Linked DNA regions of Homo sapiens: all the other regions are linked to region 1. The links are contacts of gene promoters, found by promoter capture Hi-C in blood cells and fetal thymus (Javierre and others, 2016). All regions are on one chromosome and are shown on one strand. The core of a region is centred on a gene start or on the middle of the fragment in contact, and the rest is flanking DNA. Distances in the headings are between cores, read along the strand shown.

Region 1 (4,448 bases), core at 1,482-3,981:
AGTAGCTGGGATTTCAGGCATGCGCCACCACGCCTAATTTTGTATTTTTAATAGAGACAGGGTTTCTCCATGTTGGCCAGGCTGGTCTCAAACTCCTGACCTCAGGTGATCCACCCACCTCAGCCTCCCAAAGTGCTGGGATTACAGGTGTGAGCCACCACACCCGGCCTAATTTTATTTATTATTATTATTTTTTTGAGATGGAGTATCTCTCTGTTGCCCAGGCTGGAGTGTAGTGGCATGATCTTGGCTCACTGCAACCTTTGCCTCCAGGGTTCAAGCAATTCTCCTGCCCCAGGGGGATGGTTCTAGAATACCCCCTCAAATACCAAAATCTGAGAATGCAGAAGTCTCTTACATAAAATTGCACAGTATTTGCAAATAACCCACAAACATCCTCCTGCATTACTTTAAGCTGGGGTGTCCATTTTTTTGGCTTCCCTGGTCACATTGGAAGAAGAACAATTGTCTTGGGCCACACATACATAAACTACACTAACACTAATGATAGCTGATGGGCAAACAAACAAAACAAAAAATGCTAAAAATCTCCTAATATTTTAGTTAAGTTTACAAATTTGTGTTGGGCCACATTCAAAACTGTCCTGGGCTGAGGGTTGGACAAGCTGCTTTAAGTCATTTGTAGATTACTTATAATACCTAACACAATGTAAACGCAATGTAAGTGGTTGTCATGTTGTATTTTCTTTGTATTATTTTACTGTTGTATTATTTTTTATTGTTAGTTTTTGTTTTGTTTTGTAGTATTTTGATCCGCTGTTGGTTGACTCTGCAGATGCAGAATGCTCGGATAAGGAAGCCAACTGTACTCCCGCATACCAGCTACTTGCTTACTCTCTATTTATTATCTGTTATTCTCTATGCCTTCATTCTAGCATATGCTTCATTCTAGCATAAGTAATCACCTTTCTACATTCTGGAGTCAGGACAATATCTAGATCATTGCTCAAGAGTTCTGAACTGGGAGATTAAAAAGCTGGGCCAGCTGGGCACAGTGGCTCACGCCCGTAATCCCAGCACCTTGGGAAGTAGAGGCGGGTGGATCACCTGAGGTCAGGAGTTAGAGACCAGCCTGACCAACATGGAGAAACCCCGTCTCTACTGAAAATACAAAATTAGCCGGGAGTGGTGGCGCATGCCTGTAATCTCAGCTACTCGGGAGGCTGAGGCAGGAGAATCACTTGAACCCGGGAGGCAGAGGCTGCAGTAAGCCGAGATCGTGCCATTGCACTCTAACCTGGGCAACAAGAACGAAACCCGAAAAAAAAAAAAAAGGCTGGGGAGGTGATTGTGGGGAAAGACAGGTCTCCCAAAATGCCCTCTGTGTGTAGTTGTTCACGGAAACCACATAAACAGAAAATAGCTACAACAGCTAATTCTTACTAAGGTGTCAAGCGTTGTGCATAACACTGCCTAATGTGTGACATTAAACGTTTTCACCAGGTCAGCCACTTAATCTTCAGAAAACTGGTGGCCAACTCTGAGGTTTCACATTGACGTTTAATGGCTGTTCCTAAAGAAGTGCGTGCTTTTTAAAAAAATAGAGGATGGGAGGTAGGTTGGAAAGGGAAGATAAGCGGCAATGGAAAAATCGAGTGTGATTATTGCATTTTTATCAAATATGTCTGTCTGGATTATGTGGTTAGAATCACTGCAAATTTGGCTTCTATAAATACTTTAAAACTTTTTTCCAATGTTTTCATTATCAGATCCACTATGCAGGCTTTGAGTGGGCTGCCATTTAGTTCAGATATCAAAGTATTTTACAAGTAACTAATAGCATTTATTATCTACACGTGGAAAACTATAGCAAAGAAAGGTCAATCAAAAGTTGTGCTCTAGGTCATCAGATAAAATGAGATTAATACTGAAAAATTCTTCCACGAAGACCAGGGGTCCAGCTAAATGTGTGGTGGTGGGAAAAATGTTTATCTGACGTCCCTCTAAAGAAACCTCAGATGGGAGAAAAATGTCCCAGCCCCAGGAATGGACACATTTAGGTTTTTCCTTTTTTTTTTTTTTTTTTTTTTTTGAGACAGGGTCTCGCTCTGTTGCCCAGGCTGGAGTGTAGTGGCGCGATCTCTGCTCACTGCAACCTCCGCCTCCCGAGTTCAAGCGATTATCCTGCCTCAGCCCCCCGAGTAGCTGGGATTACAGGCGCGCGCCACCAGGCCCAGATAATTTCTTTGTATTTTTTAGTAGAGATGGGGTTTCGCCCTGTTGGCCAGGCTGGTCTCGAACTCCTGGCGATCCGCCCGCCTCGCGTTCCCAAAGTGCTGGGACCACAGGCGTGGGCCACCGCGCCCGGCGCACATTTGGGTTTTTCGTGGTCAGCAAAAGCACGACCACCCCAACACATAAATCTGGCGAATCATACGCAAATTCCCTCATGCTATATAACCTTCCACTGCTCTTCGTACCTTTGGACAGGAACATACTGTTATTTTAGGGAAGGAAATGGATCAGATACCTTGTCTCCTTCTTCTGCACTACCAAACACCCCAAATGGCGTCCCTAGCAATCAGATTCCAGAAACGTTTCCTCTCCTCTTGAAAGCCCACCGCTCCCTTCACCCAAAAAACAGAATAATCAGGGGCCTAATGAAGCTGTCCGGCCAACCTGCAGGAGAGAGCTGAGGAAGAACCACTTGCCGCGCCAGGAGCATCCCGCGCCGCACTATGGAGGCAGCCATCTTGGAGCGTACCAAAAGGAACAGCCAACGGGTTACGGACAGAGGAAGGGGCGGGGTTACAGCTCGACCTCTCGGGGCGCCCAGAATTGGACGAATCCCTTTTGTCGCTCTCGACGACAGGACCGACGCTCCGCCTCCTCGCCCCGGTTCCAGTAGTTGGTATGGTCCGAGACAGTATGGCTGCTGCATTTCGGCCCTCGAATCGAGTTCTCCTGCAGGCGCTGCAGATTTTGGTGTATCCTGGGGTGGGAGGCTCCGGCTCTGTCAGCTGCCGCTGCCCTCTCGGAGGTATCCGCGGCTTTAGCCTAGGGAAGGAGGGGAGGGATGGGAGAGAAGGGAGTGTTAGATCCCAGCTAGCATCTCTGTGGAGCAGCCACAGCTCCTAAGTCACTCACTGGCCTGGAGCGCACCCTCGCCCTCTAGTTGCACGTGGGTGCAGTGGTGACCACTGGGGGTCGTGGATACCCCCAGTGCCTGCAAATCGAAGGACTGCTGGGGTATTGACCTTGGGGCTGTAGTGCTCCCTCAGATGGGGCGACGTTCGTCTTCAGGAACATCCCTCCCGCCTTGGGTGACTTTTATTTATTTATTTATTTATTTTTGAGACGAAGTCTTGCTCTGTCGCCCAAGCTGGAGTGCGGTGGCGCGATCTCGGCTCACTGCAGCCTCCGCCTCCCGGGTTCAAGCGATTCTCCTGCCTCAGCTTTCCGAGTAGTTGGGACTACAGGCGTGCGCCACCACGCCCGGGTAATTTTTTGTATTTTTAGTAGAGACGGGTTTCACTATGTTGGCCAGGCTGGTTTCGAACTCCTGACCTCGTGGTCCACCCGCCTCGGCCTCCCAAAGTGCTGGGATTATAGGAGTGAGCCACCGCGCCCGGCCTTTTTCTTTTCTGCAGAGTTTGGAAGCAGAGGTCTTATGGAGTCTCAGTTCTGCTAACAATCTAAAAGACTTAACGGCACGTTTCTTCATTTTTCAAAACTATCCTCTAACATCTCTATGAAGAGAGTTAAATCTGAAGATGCTAGTGAGTGATAGTAAAAATGTTTGTCAGGCATTACTTTAATGTAGTTTACATACATTAATTCCTTTTCTCTAGACAACACCCAGCAAGAGAAGTACCATTCTTTTCTCCATTTACAGAGGAGGAACAAGGTTAAGTAATTTGCCCAAAGTCAGAGGGAACTGTTAGAGGTGGGATTTGAACACACCCAACAATAGAAACCTGCTCCTAACCACTTCACTGGACTGCCTTTCTGTAAATAAATAGCAACTTTTATTGTTACCTTGTTACTGCAGCTCACAGAACTCTGTTAGTGCGTGATTCTTCGGCCACGCTTGGTCCGTTTTATCTCATGCACAGCCAAGGATCCTAAAGAAAGGATGATGTTTCCCAAATCTACTAAGCTGTGATCAATGATTTCCATGTATCTCAAATGTATTTTGAGTCCACATCTGAGAGGCCTTAACCCCCTCATTTCACAGAGGACAAAACTGGGAGTTCCAGTGGTCATGCTGCAGCTTTTTCCACTACACTGTGCTTCTCCCTGGATAAACCAAAACTAAATATGCCTGTTTTGCATTTAAATGTTATTAGTTTTTTTTTTAAATGCCCTTGATACCCTTAACCGATGGCAAATGCCCATTTGTACTTCAAATCCCAACTTCCTGTCAACCAGTCCCCACACAGGTTTATCACTAGCTACGGTTAATCACTAGCTTCTTTCACACACAC
Region 2 (4,448 bases), core at 1,166-3,665, 3.3 Mb before region 1:
CTGTCATAAAAGAAATTGGATGGAGGAAAGGAAGTTGGCGGAGAGGGAGGAGGTGACGAGAAATCATCTGCCATGGCCACAAGAGAACGGGAGAGTGCAGCTCTTGCAGAAAAAGAGCTAAAGACACAAGTCTCCTGCTTGTTGGAGAGAAAAGAAGCTTTGCACAGGCAGGGCCAATGTATGCTACATTAGAGGGAAGCCTTCCATGAAATCAATAGAGGAAAACACAATACTTAAAGACTGCATAAGCAAAGATTAGAATTTATGAGTAAGGCCTTGGAAGCAAGAAAAGGCTGAGACAAGAACAAGACAATACCTACAGAAGGAAATCCAGACCAGGCCATAACTAGTCACACAAGTTAAATGCTCGTGTTCAGTTCCTCAGTGAAGTGATCCTGGAAAATAATATGAATAGCAAGGCTGACCTTAGAACTACTGTGTATCATTATAGTTTATTGTATATTGACTGCTGCAGGTGACTCTGTTAAATAACCTACATATTCTTCTCATAATAAAGTGCTTTTCTCAACCCCATAAAGTCCTGAGTTAAATAAACCTATTAGGTGAAAATGTGAATAGATCAAGCACTGTAAAAAAAAAAAAAAAAAAAAAAGTTGAAAATGTAATCAATGACATAATTTCTAAAGTGGCATCTGGCCTAAGAGAGTTGTATTCAATGAGTTCCACCAAACTTCAAGAAACAGGTGATGTTTGGGTGTTTTTCTATTTCCACAAGGCATCAAAAAAAATGCAGGTAATCTGAGGACCACCATTGGAGAACCACTGTCTTTGTAGAATGCCGCCTTAATGAAGCTTATTTTGATCTGGGTGTGTTTCAGCTATTAGAAAAGGAGGATTCGAACTCTAAACATGGAAGACAGGGCAGCAACACAGAAAGGAATTATATGAAGATCTCCTTATCAAAGCGGCCTGGCAAATAGGGCACAATGAGATGCAACAAAATTAGGCAGACCAGTCTTCCTAAAGATCCAGCTAAAACCAAAGAAGATAATTTGGAGTTGGGCCAGGGTAAGATCCAGAAACTAAGATTTCTCGGTTATTTATAGAGCAGTCATCATATTTGTAAGATGCCTATGAGATACATATATATGACAAAGGAAGGAGGTGGCTCAGGTCTGTCTATTAGGGATTCCTTCAGCAAAGTCTCAACTGGGATCAAGTCTTGTTCAAAGTAAAGCCTTCTTTCTAAATCCACCTACCTCTGTTAACTATTGTTTTCTTCTGTCTCTTCTCAACTATGCTCTTACTGAAACATCAGCTCCTGGGACATCCCTTGTCTTGTTTCCCAGTTTTGTTCCTACCTATGTTTTGCCAGGATTCAGAGGAGCTGGGTTCTAGGCTTGATTAAAATCTTTCTAATCGTGTCATCTTGTTAACATCTTGTTGGTCATCTGTTTACACCTCTTGAATATCAGATCTAGCCCAGATCTGATCCTTTCCCCCATACTCATATTAAAATGCACCCCCACCTTCGCCTGTAGAGGGCCATCCTTGCCCCACTCCACATATTTAGCTCAGGAGTTATTGTCTCCATCCTGGCTAATCAGAGTTAACCACATACTAGGAAAACAGAACTAAGAGATGTCAAGGGAATCTGGGCCCTGATGGTATCAATCGAACATCTCTTTCAAGGCACATTGAAAGCTCACTCTAGTCCTGAACTTTTCAATTCTGTGAGCCAAAACACAGAGACAGAGACAGACAGAGAGACAGATACCTTTTACTGTGTAATCCACTTTGAGTTTTCTGTCGCTTGTAATGCATCTTTCTTGGAAGCATGTTTTTCATCAATAAAACAAGGATAATACTTGCTACCAAGCTTCAGTAGGATGTAAGTATTTTGGAAAGTCTAAAGCCTATTCAAACATAAAGTATTATTCCTACTTCCTCTTTTATGCTCTTGCCTGAGTTCCTTGCATACTAATACTTTCAAAGCATAAAACATAATACTATACCAAAAGAACATTTTCATTACCTGATATTCCTGTTCTGTGTTCAGGGACTTTTGATCCCATCTGTTCTACAGAATCTTTTATATAATAGAATTCTTTGAAACCAGACCAGCAAAGTTCTGTTTCAATGAACCATTTGTTCCCTAAGCCACAAAAATAGCTCCTGCAAATAAACCCTATGTTTAAAATGGTGTTTGTGAAAACCTCATTTTACCTGTGATATATATGAATGTACTTTGGAAATAAATTTGCCTTGTAAATTTGTCATTGATGTCTAGTAAATTTTCATTACTACTAATTAGTTAAAGTATTAGTTCCTTCTGATTTCTTGATCTTGGGACTTGCTGCTCAAAAAAGGCACTGGCTTTGGGGATCCAACAATGAAAGATCTTGGGTCTTTATTCAAACAGCAGATGATTTTCTTTTCAATGCTGCTGATTTTACTTCTGTGGTTCTTTTTTCTTCATTTCTGCTTCTCCCTCCTTTTCACGACTAATTTGGCTTTGAAATTTGATTCTTTGATTTAATCCATCTGCAATATTTATTCCTCATAGCTATTATCAGTGCCTTTGCAGAAAGTCATCTGTTGCCTGAGGAATTAGAAGACAAGGAGATATTAGGGGTTTGAGTTGCACTCTAAAAAATTAGAGAACAGAAGCAATATATTGGGATGTTAATCCAATCTCAATAAAGCTGTTACTTAAAGAGAAAAAAAGCAATGAGTTAATACTGGCCGACCCCTCAAGAACCCATGCAGAATCACAAACTGATCCTCCCCTGGGTTCATCAGCATGAAGGATGATGGCATTCTTTTCTCGATCCAAATAAAACCCAGCAAACCCTTCTTCAAGTGTTACCAATGAGGCATGTAGAATCACAGTAAGGAGATTTAACTGATAAAGGCATTTTATTTTCCAGCATTTAAGTGTACACTTTAAAGACTAAAATCAATTCCAACGTCCCTATTTATACTCTGGTGGTACACATGTGTATATATAGCAAACCAGCCATTAGGAAAGAAGCTTTGCATCTTTCCACATAATCCAAAATAATGGCAAATTATGATGTGGTGATTAAATCAAGACCTTCCATATCAAAAAATATATTGCGGACTGGATCTATTCAAAGCTACCTTCTTTTTCAATTTTTTATATTTTATTCCACCTTGCCAATGTACTTTCCTTATAATTCATTCTCTAGCTCAGCTGGACTTATTGCTACTTAGAATGGCACATACAACAGTGAAAAGATGATGTCACCCTTTAGCCAAATTGCACTATTATTCCAGAACTGCATGTACTCTCATTCATTTATCTCTGCTGACATCGCTCCACAGGAAGGTTTTCCAGGGCAGATGCGTGCTCCCTTGGCAATAAAAGTGGTGGAGATTGCACATCCATTTTAAAATCCTGAAAGGTAGATTTTAGTAAATCTCAACTTTTTAAAAATGTATTGTGATTAAAGGAGGCATCAGTTGTTGTCCCCAAACCTGTTCTGGTTAAAAACCTCAAAGAATCTTGAATGTGAAACAACCTTCAAAATTTATTCTCATTATACAAATATTTTCTTCATTTAAAGGCATGTTTTAAAAGCTGAATTTAAGAAGAATTGTGCAGATTATAGTGGTCTATTTTGCAAGTATGTGCATATATGCTAAGAAATAACTATACACTTTAGTGAACATTTGATAAGGAGTCGGGGGAAAAATTAGTGAAAGATTATTATGCAGGATTCTATTCAAGTGTGCCAGAACAGCTTTAAAATCAAATGCAAGCATTAGAGATAGGAAGAGACTTTAGGAAGAGGAAGACAAGCAATTGCAGAAATTGTATAAAACAGAAAAGGCAACGTAGGAAGTAAGAGTGAAGAGAAAATCCAGGAAAAATAGGGTTGGGTACAGTGGCTCATAGTTGTAATCCCAACATTTTAGGAAACTGAGGCAAGACAATCGCTTAAGGCCAGGAGTTCAAGACCAGCCTGGACAACATAGTGAAACCCCATCTCTACAAAAAATTTAAAAATTAGCCAGATGTGGTGGCACACACCTGTGGTCCCAGCTACTCAGGAGGCTGAGGCAGGAGGATGGCTTGAGCCCAGGAGTTCAAGGCTGCAGTGAGCCACGATCACACCACTGCACTCCAGCCTGGGTGACAGAGCAAGATTCTGTCTCTTTAAAAAAAAAAATGTGGGGAGGTAGTTTTTAAAAATACATTTTCTTATGTTTTAATCTTTTTAGAATGTAATCCATGCACACAGCAAAAATCCCAATAGCACAAAAGGATATACAAAGAATAGGAATCTCTTTCCCACTCCTGACTCCAGACCCCTAGAATTCATCCCCCACCCAAGGCAAACACTGTTACCACTTTCTTGTTCTCTTCATTTTTGTGTGTGTACCACAGACCACTTCAGTATCTGATAAAGCTTATGGATCCCCCTCTCAGAACAATGTTTGAAAATATGTAAGCTAAAGTG
Region 3 (4,448 bases), core at 977-3,476, 3.2 Mb before region 1:
CCACCCAAAGTGCTGGGATTACAAGCTTGAGCCACTGTGCCTGGCCAAGTTGTGTGCATTTTTATATAACTATTTTGGCAATGTGAAAGGTAGGGATATATAATTAGTAATTTCTTCATTTTCATTATACTATTTCAAGATTTATTACTGAATTTTAGAGAAAATAGGAATTCTCTTCTTTGATATTTTAAGATATAAAAAAAATTGTGACTCCTTTATTTTTGTGGCTTGTTAGCTGGTTCTGAAGACAGTTAGAAAATAAGAGTTCTCGGCCAGGTGTGATAGCTCATGCCTGTTTTCCCAGCAGTTTGGGAGGCCGAGGCAGGCGGATCACCTGAAGTCAGGAGTTCGAGACCAGCCTGGCCAACGTGTTGAAACACCATCTCTACTAAAAATACGAAAAATTGGCTGGGCGTGGTGGCGCACACCTGTAATCCCTGCTACTCAGGAGGCTGAGGCAGGAGAATTGCTTGAACCCGGGAGGCAGAGGTTGCAGTGAGCCAAGATCGTGCCACTGCACTCCAGCCTGGTGACAGAGCAAGACTCCATCTCAAAAAAAAAAAAAAAAAAGTTATCAAAATATTGCAATAGGAGTTTTACTAAAATAAGTATAATTAATTCTCCAGTATGATTTATTCAGAGGATAACACTTCAAGTTCTGGCATATTTGTTTAAAATAAGTGTCTTTACTTAAAACTGTATCTTGTGTTTAATATGGATTAATATTAATATATTAATGTTTCAATATTTACAGGACTGCATTTTTTATGGTTTTGTTTCAAAAGCCATTTTCTTCTGGGAAAACTATTACCAAACACCAGGTAAGATTTTTGCAGAATCTTTTATTCCTAGCAGCTTCTCGTTTAGTGGGCCAGGAGGCAATGCTTATTTTTTATAATGGGTACTTAATGAATGATTTAAGTATGCCACAGAACAATTTTAGAGTTAACTTGCTCTTGTCTTTTCAGAATGGAGACTTTAAATCATAAAGTACTAAGATCATGGAATGTTTTTAAAAAAAACAAGAGGGTAAAAAAAATTATAAAGCATTCATGTAATTGTTTTCTTCAGTACACACTTCTTATTCTGAAAGATTTACAAATTGGACATGAAAGCATGCCCAAGAGCCTAGTACAAATGTCACTGGAAAGCTGACAAAGCATAGGGGTTAAGAGTGTGATTTCTGGAGTCAGACAAAGTCATGTTCTGTCTGTCCTCCTTACTGACCCTTACTTTGGGCAAGTTACTTGATTTCTCTCTACCTTAATTTGCTCACTGTAAAATGGAGATAACAGTAACTTCCTAACAGAACTGTGAGGAAAAATGAATTAATACTTATGAAGTTCTTAGAATGATGCCTCATCATCATTGTGACAATGTGACACCCTCATGATCATTGTCACTGTTCTCTTTAGGCAGCTGTGATTCAAACTAGAAATGTCCTACATTTTGCATAATCATCTCACATCGTCACTTCTTTGGGCAGCAGTTATACCATAGTACATGTTTGCTTTATGCCATGACTTACAAACCTGCGTCATAATTTTTTTATTAGAAAGACGAATTTAAGTACTTCTGTTTCAGAGACCAAGAACATTTTTTAAAATATGATTAATAGTCTAAACCCCATTTTAACTTTTTTCTCTCCTTTCAGATAATTGGATCACTAAAAATTCCTGGTAGAAAAGAATTTAAAGACAAAAAGTTAAATGATCCTAGGAAACTAGTGGGAAACTGAGAAATCATAAAATTGTACTCTGAAGAAAAAGATTTCAAAATCTACCAGCAGACAAGAATATAGATAATGGAAAACAGAATACTGTCCTTTTTTTTTTTCTTTCTTTTTTTGAGAAAGAGTCTTGCTCCATCGCCCAGGCTGCAGTGCAGTGACACGATCTTGTCTCACTGCAACCTCTGCCTCCCGGGTTCAAGCGATTCTCCTGCCTCAGCCTCCTGAGTAGCTGGAATTACAGGCACCCACCACCACACCCAGCTCATTTTTGTATTTTTAGTAGAGACGGGGCTTCATTCACCACATTGGCCAGCCTGGTCTTGAACTCCTGACCTCAGGTGATCTGCCTGCCTCGGCCTCACAAAGTGCTAGGATTACAGGCATGAGCCACAGCACCCGGCCCAGAATAAGAATACTGTCTTGGAAATCTAGACTTAGTCAAGGGATCTTATGTTTTCTATTTACAAAATATGTAATGATTTCACCTTTAAAATATTTGTTATTATTATCTTTCTGTATTTTATTTAAAATTTGGATATATAGCAAAATATATGTGACTGAAATTTTTAATTTTTTTGTTTCCATTTATAGTGGATCAAAATATTTAAACATGCAGTTGCTGGGTGTATTATTTCACTCTTGTGGTTTTTTGGCCTCACTCTTTGTGGACCACTAAGGTAAATAAAAATGCATATTTTGAATGTGTGTTTGTATTTCTTCATTTTGAATATTATTTTTGTTCCACTGTGTTTTACGTCAAATATTTATCTGTACAAATGTGTCTAGCACTTTTATAGCATCAGAGAGAATTCAACAGATAGAACAAACCTGTTTAGTTTCTGGACTAGTTCTTTAGTGAATACCATTAATATATTTATTCATGATTTGTCATAGATATTTTACTAGTTAGAATTCCAAGTTTCAGAAAATTTTTAGCATAAACGGCTTTTTAATCATTTATTCATGATCCCTGTTAACAGCTTAGAAGCTATAATAAAAGGTCTGAAGTGGTAAATAAAATTAGCCAATAAGAAGGAGAACAAAAATCTCTAAAAGCACTCATTTTTTGCACAATTTTGCAAATACTCTCATAAATAAATGTCTCAGAAGTAGTATATCAATTATCAGATTAAATGCGTGGTGGATAAAGTAAACTACTCCCATTTCATATTTCCCTAGATCTATATAGATTAGTCTTTTTCTGCAAGTGGACTGGTTTAAGGAGGAAATGCTTAGGGACCATTGATAGGAATTGTATCATGCAGCTGTGTATGAGCATTCTTTTAACATTTCCCCATCTGTAAAGGATTTTACTTAGTGAATAAGTGTAAGAAAAAATGCCTTGCCGTGAGAATGAGAGGTAAGGAGTGAAATGAAGAATGTTCTTGGCCAGCACTGTGGCTCACGCCTGTAATGCTAGCACTTTGGGAGGCCAAGGGGTGGATCATTTGAAGTTACGAGTTGGAGACCACCCTAGCCAACATAGCAAAACCCCGCCTTTATTAAAAAATATACAAAAATTAGCCAGAAATCACTTGAACTCAGGAGGCGAAGGTTGCAGTGAGCCGAGATCACGCCACTGCACTGCAGGCTGGGCAACAGAGCGAGACTCCGTCTCAAAAAAAAAAAGAATGTTCTAAAGCAGAGAGATCCCCCACCCCCTGGCTATAGACCAGTATGGGTTCATAACTCATTAGGAACCAGGCCACAGAGCAGGAGGTGAGCCACGGGGGAGCAAGCATTACTGCGTGAGCTCTACCTCCTGTCAGATCAGCAATGGCATTAGATTCTCATGGGAGCAGGAACCCTGTTGTGAACTGTGCATGGGAGGGATATCTAGGTTGCATGCTCCTTATGAGAATCTAATGTCTGATGATCTGAGGTGGAACAGTTATGTCCTAAAACATCCCCCCACCACTGCTGTCTGGAAAAATTGTCTTCCAGGAAACCAGACCCTGGTGCCAAAAAGGTTGGGGACCACTGTTCTAAAGGATCTCACTCAGAATAGTGGGGTAGACAGAGTGGAAAGTGAAGGGTGAGAAATGTGGAAATGCTTTGTGAAAAGTCCTTTCCCCTCTCATGGCCAATAGAATAGCTTCTGGATTGGGATCCCTTTGACTTGTTTGTCATGTACTTTGTCAGATGCAGAGTAGGTATAATTGGAAATGTCATATCTCTAGCCACAGTAGCAGCTGCAGCTTGGAGGGCTGAGAAAGCTAGCTGAATTTCCTAGCTTGGGAAGAGGTTTTTCACCGTATGCTTGAATATGATTGAGTGCTGCTATTGCTTATCATCTGTAATATTTTAAATTTGTTATTCATGAAATTATGTTTTGGTTCCTGTGTTACTATATCACTGTCCTTTTGTGTTACAATAAGGAGGGAAAGAGGAAGTACTTACATCTTTACTTGGTTCCCTATTTAGTCATCTAGCTCCTGACCTTATCACTACCAACACTGCCCTCTCATTCTTCTACTAAAACCATTATGCAGTTTCTCAATTGCAAAAATTTTAATCCCAGCACTTTGGGAAGCCGAGGTGGGCAGATAGCTTGAGCCCAGAAGTTCGAGACCAGCCTGGACAACATGGCAAAATCCCATCTCTACAAAAAATTAGCCAGGCATGGTGCTGCGTGCCTGTAATCCCAGCTACCTAGAAGGCTGAGGTGGAAGAGATCACCTGACCTCAGGAGGTAGAAGCTTAACCTTAGCATACT

What was found. Contacts are between HindIII fragments. The CHiCAGO score rates a contact against its expected background, and 5 or more counts as called.
Region 2: a fragment that was not itself captured here is called in contact with the fragment with the promoter of MRPS27 in region 1 in 1 of 17 cell types (total CD4 T cells); the score reaches 7.7 in total CD4 T cells.
Region 3: a contact is called between a fragment that was not itself captured here and the fragment with the promoter of MRPS27 in region 1, in 1 of 17 cell types (non-activated CD4 T cells). The highest score is 6.0, in non-activated CD4 T cells.

Annotation. Positions count from the first base shown.
Region 1 is chr5:72,317,509-72,321,956 of GRCh38, forward strand. It overlaps MRPS27 (mitochondrial ribosomal protein S27), which reads right to left and starts at 2,732. Exons shown (of 11, transcript NM_015084.3): 1 at 2,641-2,732. The coding sequence starts at 2,713. It overlaps PTCD2 (pentatricopeptide repeat domain 2), which reads left to right and starts at 2,865. Exons shown (of 10, transcript NM_024754.5): 1 at 2,865-3,001. The coding sequence starts at 2,875. RefSeq lists enhancers at 1,783-2,324, 2,325-2,865, 2,464-2,793, 2,854-3,063. The HindIII fragment of the contact is 19,626 bases long and covers 1-4,448 here.
Region 2 is chr5:69,027,601-69,032,048 of GRCh38, forward strand. It overlaps LINC02198 (long intergenic non-protein coding RNA 2198), which reads right to left and starts at 2,327. Exons shown (of 4, transcript NR_130778.1): 1 at 2,188-2,327. The HindIII fragment of the contact is 1,155 bases long and covers 1,839-2,993 here.
Region 3 is chr5:69,102,308-69,106,755 of GRCh38, forward strand. SLC30A5 (solute carrier family 30 member 5) reads left to right here. Exons shown (of 16, transcript NM_022902.5): 3 at 755-821; 4 at 2,324-2,409. Among named protein-coding and RNA genes, the nearest start is that of SLC30A5, 11 kb to the left of the region's middle. The HindIII fragment of the contact is 4,406 bases long and covers 24-4,429 here.